Linked DNA regions of Homo sapiens: region 2 is linked to region 1. The links are contacts of gene promoters, found by promoter capture Hi-C in human tissues and cell types (Jung and others, 2019). All regions are on one chromosome and are shown on one strand. Each heading gives the region's core, a stretch centred on a gene start or on the middle of the fragment in contact. The rest is flanking DNA. Distances are from core to core; before and after follow the strand shown.

The links. The method cuts DNA at HindIII sites, captures the fragments that hold promoters and counts their contacts. A contact is called where the count stands out against the background at its distance.
Region 2: a fragment that was not itself captured here is called in contact with the fragment with the promoter of IL17REL in region 1 in 2 of the 25 tissues and cell types used here (H1 embryonic stem cells and IMR-90 fibroblasts).

The regions. Positions count from the first base shown.
Region 1 is chr22:50,011,420-50,016,222 of GRCh38, reverse strand. It overlaps IL17REL (interleukin 17 receptor E like), which reads left to right and starts at 3,458. Exons shown (of 15, transcript NM_001371417.1): 1 at 3,458-3,678. The coding sequence starts at 3,577. RefSeq lists an enhancer at 2,973-3,573. The HindIII fragment of the contact is 6,785 bases long and covers 1-4,803 here.
Region 2 is chr22:50,095,007-50,100,092 of GRCh38, reverse strand. It overlaps MOV10L1 (Mov10 like RNA helicase 1), which reads right to left. Exons shown (of 27, transcript NM_018995.3): 3 at 491-650. Among named protein-coding and RNA genes, the nearest start is that of MOV10L1, 7.5 kb to the right of the region's middle. The HindIII fragment of the contact is 9,728 bases long and covers 1-5,086 here.

The DNA of each region.
Region 1 (4,803 bases), core at 2,209-4,708:
CTGGGACTCTGTGGCTGGCCCAGCATGCTGCTGGCCCTCGCCTGCAGGCACCGTCCTGAACCCACCACCCACTTGGTCCTGGCCCAGTGGGGATGGGTCCTCAGCACCAGGCATCTGAACCTGAGCCCAGGCACAGCAGGGCAGGACGAGTTGGGGTGGGGGCTGCTCTTCTCCAAATCTCCTGGCCGGTTGGGTCCTTCTAGGCAGGACTCACCTGGAGGAGGGCTGAGAGAGGCTGACAAGCTAGAGGCAGAGCTGGACTGCCCCTCTGGGGTGGGGGGCCAGGTGGAGGGGCGTTAGGGAGGGTGAGGGGGGTGGGGAAGGGGACCTCCCATCCGCAGAGCCTTCATCCCAGAGGGACGACACCCTACCCCCGCCCCCCTGCGTTTGAGTGGAGGTCTTGGTTTTCCGAAAGCTGGGGGAAGCAGGTGGGCTCCATGCAGGAGCGAGTTGGGAGCCACCTGGGGCTGGTCTTGCAGGTGATAAGGGTGACCCTGGGGGGCCTGCCTGGGGGCGTGGCCTTGAGGGGCGCGGGCGTCGCCTGTTGGTGGGTGTGGATTGAGGGACGGGTGGGTGCGGTCCGGGGACCTGGGGTCGAGGTCAAGGGGCGCTAGGCACAGTCAGGGGGCCTGGGGCGCGGTCGGGGGTGGGCTGGGGTAGGAGAGGACAGGGGCGAGGTTTCAGGGATCTGTGGGCTCAGGGTCTGTGGACGCAGTCCAGGGTTCCCGGGGGGTGTGGGAAGGTCAGTGGGCTGGAGGAGCGGTGGCGGGGGGCGGGGTGGGCGGGGCCCGGGGACGCGACTGCAGGTGGAGGAAGGCGCTGTAGGGGGTGGGGAGTCCCGGGGCGCGCCGGGGCGGGCGAGTGCTGTCGGGGTGGAGGGAGGCGCGGCCGGGGAATGTGGGGCCGGCGCACGCGGTCTCAGCGCCCCTCCCTCCCCAGGGCTGCCGAGGGACCCCCGAGCGCCGCCCTGCCTCGTGTGCCGCGGGCTGCTGCCACCCGCCGGGCCCTGCAAGCGCTGCCGCTCGTTCTGCGCCGCGGTCCTGCAGGGCGCGTCCTTCGTGCGGCTCGGCGGGCGGAGCTGCAGCCCGCGGACCCCGTGAGTCGGGACCGGCGCGGGGACCAGGACGACGACCCGGAGCCACGCGCGTCTCCGTGGAAACCTGCGCGGAGCTGAGGCCGAGAACACAGCGCTGTTGTGGTGAACCCGCGTCCTCGCCGTGGTTTTCTTGGGAACCTCGTGCCCAGCACCCCCGCACCCGCTCCGGACCCTCCGAGCCGCTCTGGGGAAGGCTCCAGCCCGGGTCCCGGGCGGACGCTGGTTCGTTCCTTCCCGCGTTCGTCCGACGAGTCTCGGCGCCGCCCAGGGTCTCCGCACCCCGTTTCCTCCCATCTGGTGCCCAGCGCGGGCGCGGAGGGAGCCCCCGGGGTTGGACCCTCAGATCCCTTCACCGTTGGGCTTCTGGGCGACCGATGGTCACTGGGCTGTGTGGCCGTGCTGCCCTGGAGACCCAGACTTGGAAAGACCCCACCCCCACCCCAGGCCTCGCCCAGCTGCGGTGGGTGATCTCGGTGGCCGGGGCCCGCCCAGGAGCCCGTGGCCTGGCTCTTCATGGATACTGAGCAGGGCCAATCCCCCAGCCCTCAGAGACAGGGCTGGAGCCCTCTGACCTCAGGCTGGAGAGGGTGGCCGGGGGCCTGGGGCAGAGGGCAGAGGCCGGCCCCACTGTCCTTCCCTGGGCCTTGGAACCAGCACCAGCCACACCCCGTGGGCCGTCCCTACACGAGATCACCGACTACTGGCCACCTGCAGCCCCTGCCTGCGTCACGGCACGCTGGGATGGCGCCTTCAGGCAACGGGTGTGTCGTGGTGGGGGCCTGTCCCAGAGAGGCCTGGAGAGAGGTTTGGGTGTGAGTGGGCCCATGGGGGAGGGACATTTGTCCTTTCCCAATGATCCTGCTGGCCGTGCCCATGGACATCGTCTGGGACACCCCTGCCACAGTACAGCAGCCCCCATCGTCCCCTGGTATAAGGAGGGCTGGAGGCCAGGCTGAGGGGCGAGGCCCAGCTGGAGTATCTGTCTTACAGCTCAGCCAGCCTGGGATAGGGGATGACAGTGGCCCGTCCTGAGCCACCCCCAAATGTGCCTGCCTGCTGCTGACCATGCCGTGGCATGGAGGCTGGCACTAGCCACTCTCTCCAGGGCATTGTGGCCACAGGCACGCTGCTGCAGGGGGCGGGCTCAGCCCCATCTACTCTGCCCAGCAGTGAGTGCATAAGTTCCAGCCCATGGAGGGCTCTAGGCCAGGCGGGGGCAGGGTCGAGGTGCTGGCCCAGGAGGCAGGGAGGTGGGCAGTGCGGGGTGGTGGGAGGGAGGGAGGACTTCACGGTCACAGCAGCCCCTGCCGCCTTCCCTCCCCTGGGACCGAACCCCAGAGCTTGTTTCTCAAGCTCCCTCCTGACTACCCGAGCCCACAGTGTGAGGCCCACAGCCTCTCCCAGCCTGGGGGTGGTGCCGCCCTCCACACTTGGGGTGTCCTGTGGGTATTCCAGGCAGAACACCCCAGCTAGACACTCCCAGGCTCCCCAGCTATTAACTCCCGCCATCCCCCCCCCACACACACACAGACACACACACACACACACACACACACACACACACACACACACACACACACGTGGGGCAGTGCCCTCCCAGAACCTGAGGCAGGTGCAGAAGCCTCTGTGCCTGTCCAGGAAGGGAGGAGCCAGGAGGACCCAAGAACTGCACCCTGGTTCTCTCCAACCCCCTGCCCTGGCTGGAGGCAAATGGGAAGCAGTAAGCTTCTGCCCAGAAACTTTCCTATGCATTTGATGCTCCAAATAAGAAGATGACACAGAACGGCTCCCTGAGCAGAGGCTGGGCCCCAGAGTTCCCAGCCTCGGGGGGTGCCCTCCGGAGTGGGGGGGGGCTCATAGGGAGGACCACACAGGGGAGGTGGCCTTTTGCATCTTGAGGGGAGGTGGAGGCCAGGGACTTGGGTGGAATCTCAGGTCTTAGGAGAGGGCTCCCCTTAGGGGCTGGGGCTGAAGCCAGGGGCTCTGGGGTATGAGTGCCCAGGACAGATTCCACCCCTCTGCCAGCCCAGCCAGCTTTCCAGGGCCCTTGTCTACCCTCCTGGCCTCATGCATGCCTGAGGGAGGTGCACGCCGGCGGCAGCCTATCCCGCCGGCCTGGAGCCATCTCTGCACCAGTGGCCGCCCTGTGGGGAACCCCATTAGGGTGTCCTCGGACCCCAAAGGCCCCAAGGTTTCTGGATGCTTCCTTTGGAAACCTAGAAACTCCACAAGTGTCTGGCCACAGTCTTCTGGCCCCAGGCGGTGGAAAGTCTCCCGGGCTGCTGTCTGTGAAGCGAGCCCTGTTTTGCCGGGAGGGGGAGTGTCTCGCTCGCTCCAGCTGTGAAGAGCAGCCTCCACCCTCTGTTTGTCTTTGGGGCTGGAGCTGCAGGGTCAGCCTGGAGCCGCTGCCACAGGGCATCCTGCAAACTTGCCCCACTCACATCCACGCTTACCAGTGGGAGCTCTCACTGCACAGCCAGATGCTGGCTGGGCAAGCACTCGCGTTCTTGGGCCTGACCTGGGGCACTTTCCAGAGCCTGGCCATCCCCCGGATTACAGAATGTGGCCTCTCCTGTTCTCAGGTAAGCTCCTGCCTCCTCCTAGGCCCCTACACTGTGGCAGATAAGGCCCTGGTTTCTCCTCAGGTGGGTCTGGCCTGACGCTCTCAGCACATCAGCAGGTGAGGGGTTGCAGGGCCCTGGGGGGTCCGAGGGCAGCGCTGGTGAAAGAAGGATGGGAGACCTGGCCTGACCCTGCCGAGCTGCTCCGGGAAGTGTTTGCTGGAAGCTCAAGGCAGGGTGAGCCCACCTCGGACCCACCTGTGACCTCCAAGGAGGCTGTGTTAGAATCTAGGGCAGCCCGCAAGCCCATCCGGGGCTCCCACCCCACCCCGCTCGGCTGCTCTGAGCCATCGGGAGCCCGCAACACCTGGGCTTGTGTAGACACCTGCCAAGGAAACACTCGGAGAACGTGCTGAGAATGAGATGTTGGCAGTGGAGGTGGCTGGGTTGGGGTGGAGGGCTCTCACTGCACAGCCCACTCACTCAGCCTTACAGGAGAGGGCGCTTCATCAGCACCTGCAGCAGGAAGTGTACCCAGCATCCCAGGAAGGGGCCCCGGTGCCCAAGGCTGGCCGGGCACAGTGGGGACACAGGCATGGAAAGGGCACAGAAGGTGTCCCGGAAAGGGAGGACTCACTGAGGACCTGCTGGGTGCACCGTTCCTGGCATGGGGACAGCAGTTAGCAAGATGTGCCTTTAGGGTGGTGGCCTGGTCACCTCAGGGGACACTTGCGGGGACATCCAGCAGCTCCACAGGGCCTGAGACGGGTCCAGCAGAGGGCTCAGCTCAGGGAGGGGAGCAGCAAGGGCTGGAGTGCTGGGTGCCATGGGCAGGCTCAGATCCACAGGGCATTCGTGGAACAAGGAAGAAAGCAGGCTGGGATGCGTGGGAACCGGTGGCAGCAGGGGAGATGGGCGGGTTCAGGTGGGAGGGGTGTCCACCGGATGCCACCCTGCAGTGGAGATGGAAAACAGGGAGGGGGCAGGCCTGGGGATCCTGGCTAGGAGGGGGAAGGAGAAGCGAGAGATGAGACCTCAGAATCGACTTTTGCCTCTGGGAGGAAATGGTCCCTGAGTTGGGAGACATGGGGGGAGGCGGCCTTGAAGTGCAAGCTGGAAAGCTTTGCTGAGGCGGCTGCGGGGTAT
Region 2 (5,086 bases), core at 145-2,644, 86 kb before region 1:
TCAAACCCAGGAAGCAGAGGTTGCAGTGAGCTGAGATCATACCACTGCACTCCAGCCTGGGCAACAGAGTGAGACTCCATCTCGAAAAACAAAAACAAAAACAAAAACAAAAAAAACAAAACAGTGACCTGGTGCCCTCTCCCATAGTCCACTCAATATCCAAGAGCCTCTGTGTGAAGCCAGCACCTGGAGAAGCTACTCTAATCCCGAAACCCTCTCAACAAACAAAGCATGCCCAAAACTGATCCCTTCAATGTTGTGTGTAGCCATCACAAATATAGACACAGGGTTGTGTTCTGTCACCCAGGCTGGAGTGTAGTGGCTGGATCATAGCTCACTGCAGCCTCCAACTCCTGGGCTCAAGCGATCCTCCTGTCTCAGCCTGACAAAGTGCTGGGATTATAGGCATGAGCCACCGTGCCTGGTCCATAACAATTCTTTAAAAGACAAAACCTAATTTTCAATGTGGAACACAGACCCCTGAGCATACCTTCGCACACACTCTCCAGAGAGAAGTAGGTGGTCTGACTGATACAGCCTGCGCCCTCCACCAGGGAAGTCACACAGCCAATCAACACTCGGGGGCCGCAGTCTGAGGGACTCCCATGGTTTCTGCTGTCGTCTTCCCACTTATCAGAGACAGCTTCTACCTGTAAAACAAACACACCGCTCTAAACCATAATACGAGAACTACAAGAAAAGCAAACTACAGGCTGGCATGCCTGTCTGAGACCATTAGGGCTGCAAGTCCAAGATCAAGGCCCTGGCAGATTCCGGGTCTGGTGAGGGCCTTCTTCCTGGTATACCGTCGGTGTCTTCCTGCTGTGTCCTCACATGGCAGAAAGGGCAAAGGGGTTCTCTGGGGTATGTTTCATAAGGGCTCTGCCCTTGTGACCCAGTCACCCACCAAAGCCTCCTAATAAGATTCCACTGGGGTCAGGATTTCAACATACGTATTTTGGGGGACACCAACATTGAGTCTATAGCAATCCCTTATGAACACTGATGCAAAAATCCTCAATGAAATATTATCAAACCAAATGCAGCAGCATATTAAAAGGATTATACCCCATGACTAAGTGGGGTTTATCCCAGAATGCAAAAGTGTTTCAACATATGAAAATCAGTCAACATATTACATTGATAAGATGAGGGAAAAAATCACGATGATCTCAACTGATGCACAAAAAGCATTTGACAAAATCAACACTTTTTATGATGCAAACACTCAATAAACTAGGAATCGCAGGAAATCTCTTCAACACGAGAAAGGCCATAAACAAAAATCTCACAACAAACACCACACTCAATGGTGAAAGGCCGAAAGCTTTCCCCTAAGATCAGGAACCAGGCAAGGATGCCCATGCTTACTTCAAGACTTTCAAATTTCAATTATCTTTATTCACAGATGGTAGGATCTCATCTGTGGAAAACTCTAAAGATTCCACACACGTAAATGAAACAAAAAATGGTTAGAGCTAATAAATGAATCCAGCACAGGACACAAAGTCAACATACAAAAATCAGATTTCCATACATTTGCAATGAAAAATCCAAAAAGGAAATCAAGAAAAATGATCCAAAGAAAGGGAAAACAATTCCATTTATAACAGCACTGTTAGGTTAATAGGTTAATTCCTCAGAACACTTAGTAACCTAACTAAGGAGATGGAAGACACGTAAAATGACACTAATGAATGAATTAAATACCTCAATAAACAGCAAGACAACCGCGTTCATGAATTGGAAAACCTAATATTATTAAAATGACAATCTTAAGACTTAATTATTAAGATGATAATACTACTCAAAGTGATTATGTGATTATTAAGATGTTAATCTTAATAATTATTATTAAGATGTTAATCTTAATACTTAATTATTATTAAGATGACAATCTTAGACTTAATTATTAAGATGACAATACTACCCAAAGTGATCTATTACACAAATTCAGGTTGGGTGTGGTAGCTCATGCCTGTAATTCCAGCACTTTGGGAGGTTGAGGCAGGTGGATCACTTGAGGTCAGGAGTTCAAGACCAGCCTGGTCAACATGGTGAAACCCCATCTCTACTAAAAATACAAAAAAAATTAGCTGGGTGTAGTGGCAAGCACCTGCAGTCCCAGCTACTTGGGAGGCTGAGGCATGAGAATTGCTTGAACCAGGGAGGCGGAGGTTGCAATGAGTCAATATCACATCATTGCACTCCATCCTGGGTGACAGAGCAAGACTCTGTCTCAAACAAACAACAAAAAAACCCAACAAATGCAACGCAATCCCTATCAAAGTCCTATGGGTCTATTTTTATATAAATAGAAAAACTCATCTAAAATTCTAATGGAATCTCAAGGGACCATGAATAGGCAAAATGGTCTTGAAAAGGAGTAACAAAATTGAAGGTTTCATACCTCCTGATTTCAAAACTTCCTACAAAGTTACAGTCATCAAACTAGTGTGGCACCAGTGTAAGGACAGAAATATAAACCAATGGAATAGTAAAGAGACCCAGAAATAAACCCTTGCATGTGCAGTCAATTGATTTTTGACAAGGACCATTCAATAAACTGCAATTGTGCAGTCTCAAAAAAAAATAGTGCTGGGAAAATAACCATGGGCAAAATAATAAAGTTAGACTCTCGTTTTACACCAAACACAAAAATTAACTCAAAATGGATTAAAGAGGCCAGGCGTGGTGGCTTACCCCTATAATCTCAGCATTTGGAAAGGCGTGGGATGGGCGGATCACTTGAGCCCAGGAGTTCGAGACCAGCCTGGGCAACATAGAGAGGCCCCATCTCTACAAAAAATACAAAAATTGGGTGAGGCAGCACACACCTGTAGTCCCAGCTGCTCAGGTGGCTAAGGTGGAAGGATCACTTCAGCCTGGGAGGTTGAGGCTGCAGTGAGCTGTGACTGTGCTGCTGCACTCCAGCCTGGGCAACAAAGTGAGATCCTGTCTCAAAAAATTTTTTTTAATGAATCAAAGACTTTAATTTAAAAGCAAAAACTATAAAACTCTTGGTAGAAAAAAATCTTCATAATCTTGGATTAGTCAATGGTATCTTGAGTGTGACATCAGAAGTACATGCAATAAAAGAGACAAATTAGACTTCCACCAAAATTTAAAACATCTGTGCATCAAAGGATACCATGAAGAAAGTGAAAAGACAATTGATAAAATGAGAGAAAGTATTTGCAAATCATGTATGTGATGAGAGATTAATATCCAGAATATATAAAGAATTCCTACTACAAGAAAACAACCTAATTTCAAAACGGGCAAAGGATTTGAGTAGATATTTCTCCAAAGAAGATATATAGATGGCCAATAAGCACATGAAAAGATGCCCTCACAAATCATTAGGGAAATGCAAATCAAAACCACAGTGAGATACTACCTCACAACTACGAGGAATAGCTACTGTCAAAAGAAAAAAAAAGAAAAAGAAAATAGCAAGTGTTGGCAAGGATACAGAAAAAGTGGCAGCCTCATGCACTGTTGGTGGGAACATATAACGGTGCAGCTGCTGTGGAAAACATCTGGTTCCTCACAAAGTTAAACCTAGACTTACCATACAGCCCAGCAATTCTCTTCCTAGGCGTAGCCCCAAAAGAACTGAACAAGGACTCAGACAGACTTGTTCATGGCAGCACAATTCACAACAACCAAAAAGTAGAAACAACCCAAGTGTCCATCAACAGATGAATGGAGAAACAAAATGTGATTTATTCACACAATGGAATATTCAGCCATAAAAAAGGAATTAACTTTTGATACATGCTACATGGGCAAATCTTGAAAACAGAAGTCAAATAGCCAGACACATGATTCCGCTTATATGAGGTATTTAGAATGGGCAAATTCATAGAGACATAAAGTAGAACACTGAATAACTGTTTAATGGGTACAGAGTGTCTACTGGGATGCTGAAAAAGTGCTGAAGACAGATTGTGGTGATGGCTGCGCAACAATGTGAACGTGCTTAATGCCACTGAACCGTACATTTCAATATGGTTAAAATGGTATATTACGCATATTTTACCACAAGAAAAATATCTAAATAAAAAATAAATCCAGAAGTACATTCAGGTTTATACCAAATGGGGATCATTCCCATCAAGTGAGAACGGCTCACAACACAGAAACTGTATTTTCCACCATATTAATAGCAAAGGGACAGAAACTATGGGATCATTTGGAAGATACTGAAAAGTACTTGAAAAATCCATTACTAATTTATAAAAGCAAGATTGTGAGTAGAGATGAACCCTCTTCACCATAACAAAAAAGGTCCTGCATTCCTTACAAGATGGAACAAGTGAAGGGCAGCTGACCACCAAGAGGGCTGGGATTTGCTGGACACCCAGGGGCCAGTTTTTCCACATTGTCACATTTCTGAGATCAGAATGAGTCTCACAACCTACGTTTCCATTTTAAATTTTCATTATCAAATTAATGGTGTATCTTAAAATCAACGGGAATTTGGTATGAGAACCTGCTTTGGAAGGCCGCGTGTGAGTACACGACCACAGCTCAGAGAATGAGGTAAACATCATCTCTACAGGTTCTGGGTTCCAGATCCTCTTTCAAAGATTCTGAACCCAGAGTACTCCTTTAAATACACACAAAAACATGAGGACTATCGTATAATTTCAAGTTCAAAAGGAAATCTTTGGAGGAAAAAATATAATTAAATAATTGGGAGAGGAAAAGAGGGTAGTGTGAATGAGCCAGTTGTACATCTCTGATGATGGAAGTCCATAAATACTAACATTGGTGAATTAATAAAAGATACAAGCATATTGTTTAAGTGACTCAACTATCTACCAGATAAGGTAGAAACAGAAACCCAGAAGAGCATCAGGTCTGCAGCATGAAAGTGCAGGTGGGGAACGTGGAGGGAGGCTCTTCTACTTTGCATTCACAGTCTCTAAGCCAGAGCTGACAGAAATGTTCTCTATGTGTGCTGCCCAATTTGGTAGTCACTAGGCTTCAGTTAGCACTTGAAATGTGGCCAGGGAAACTGAGGAAACACTTTTATTTATTTATTTTTAAGAGACAGGGTCTCTATGTGCCCAGGCTG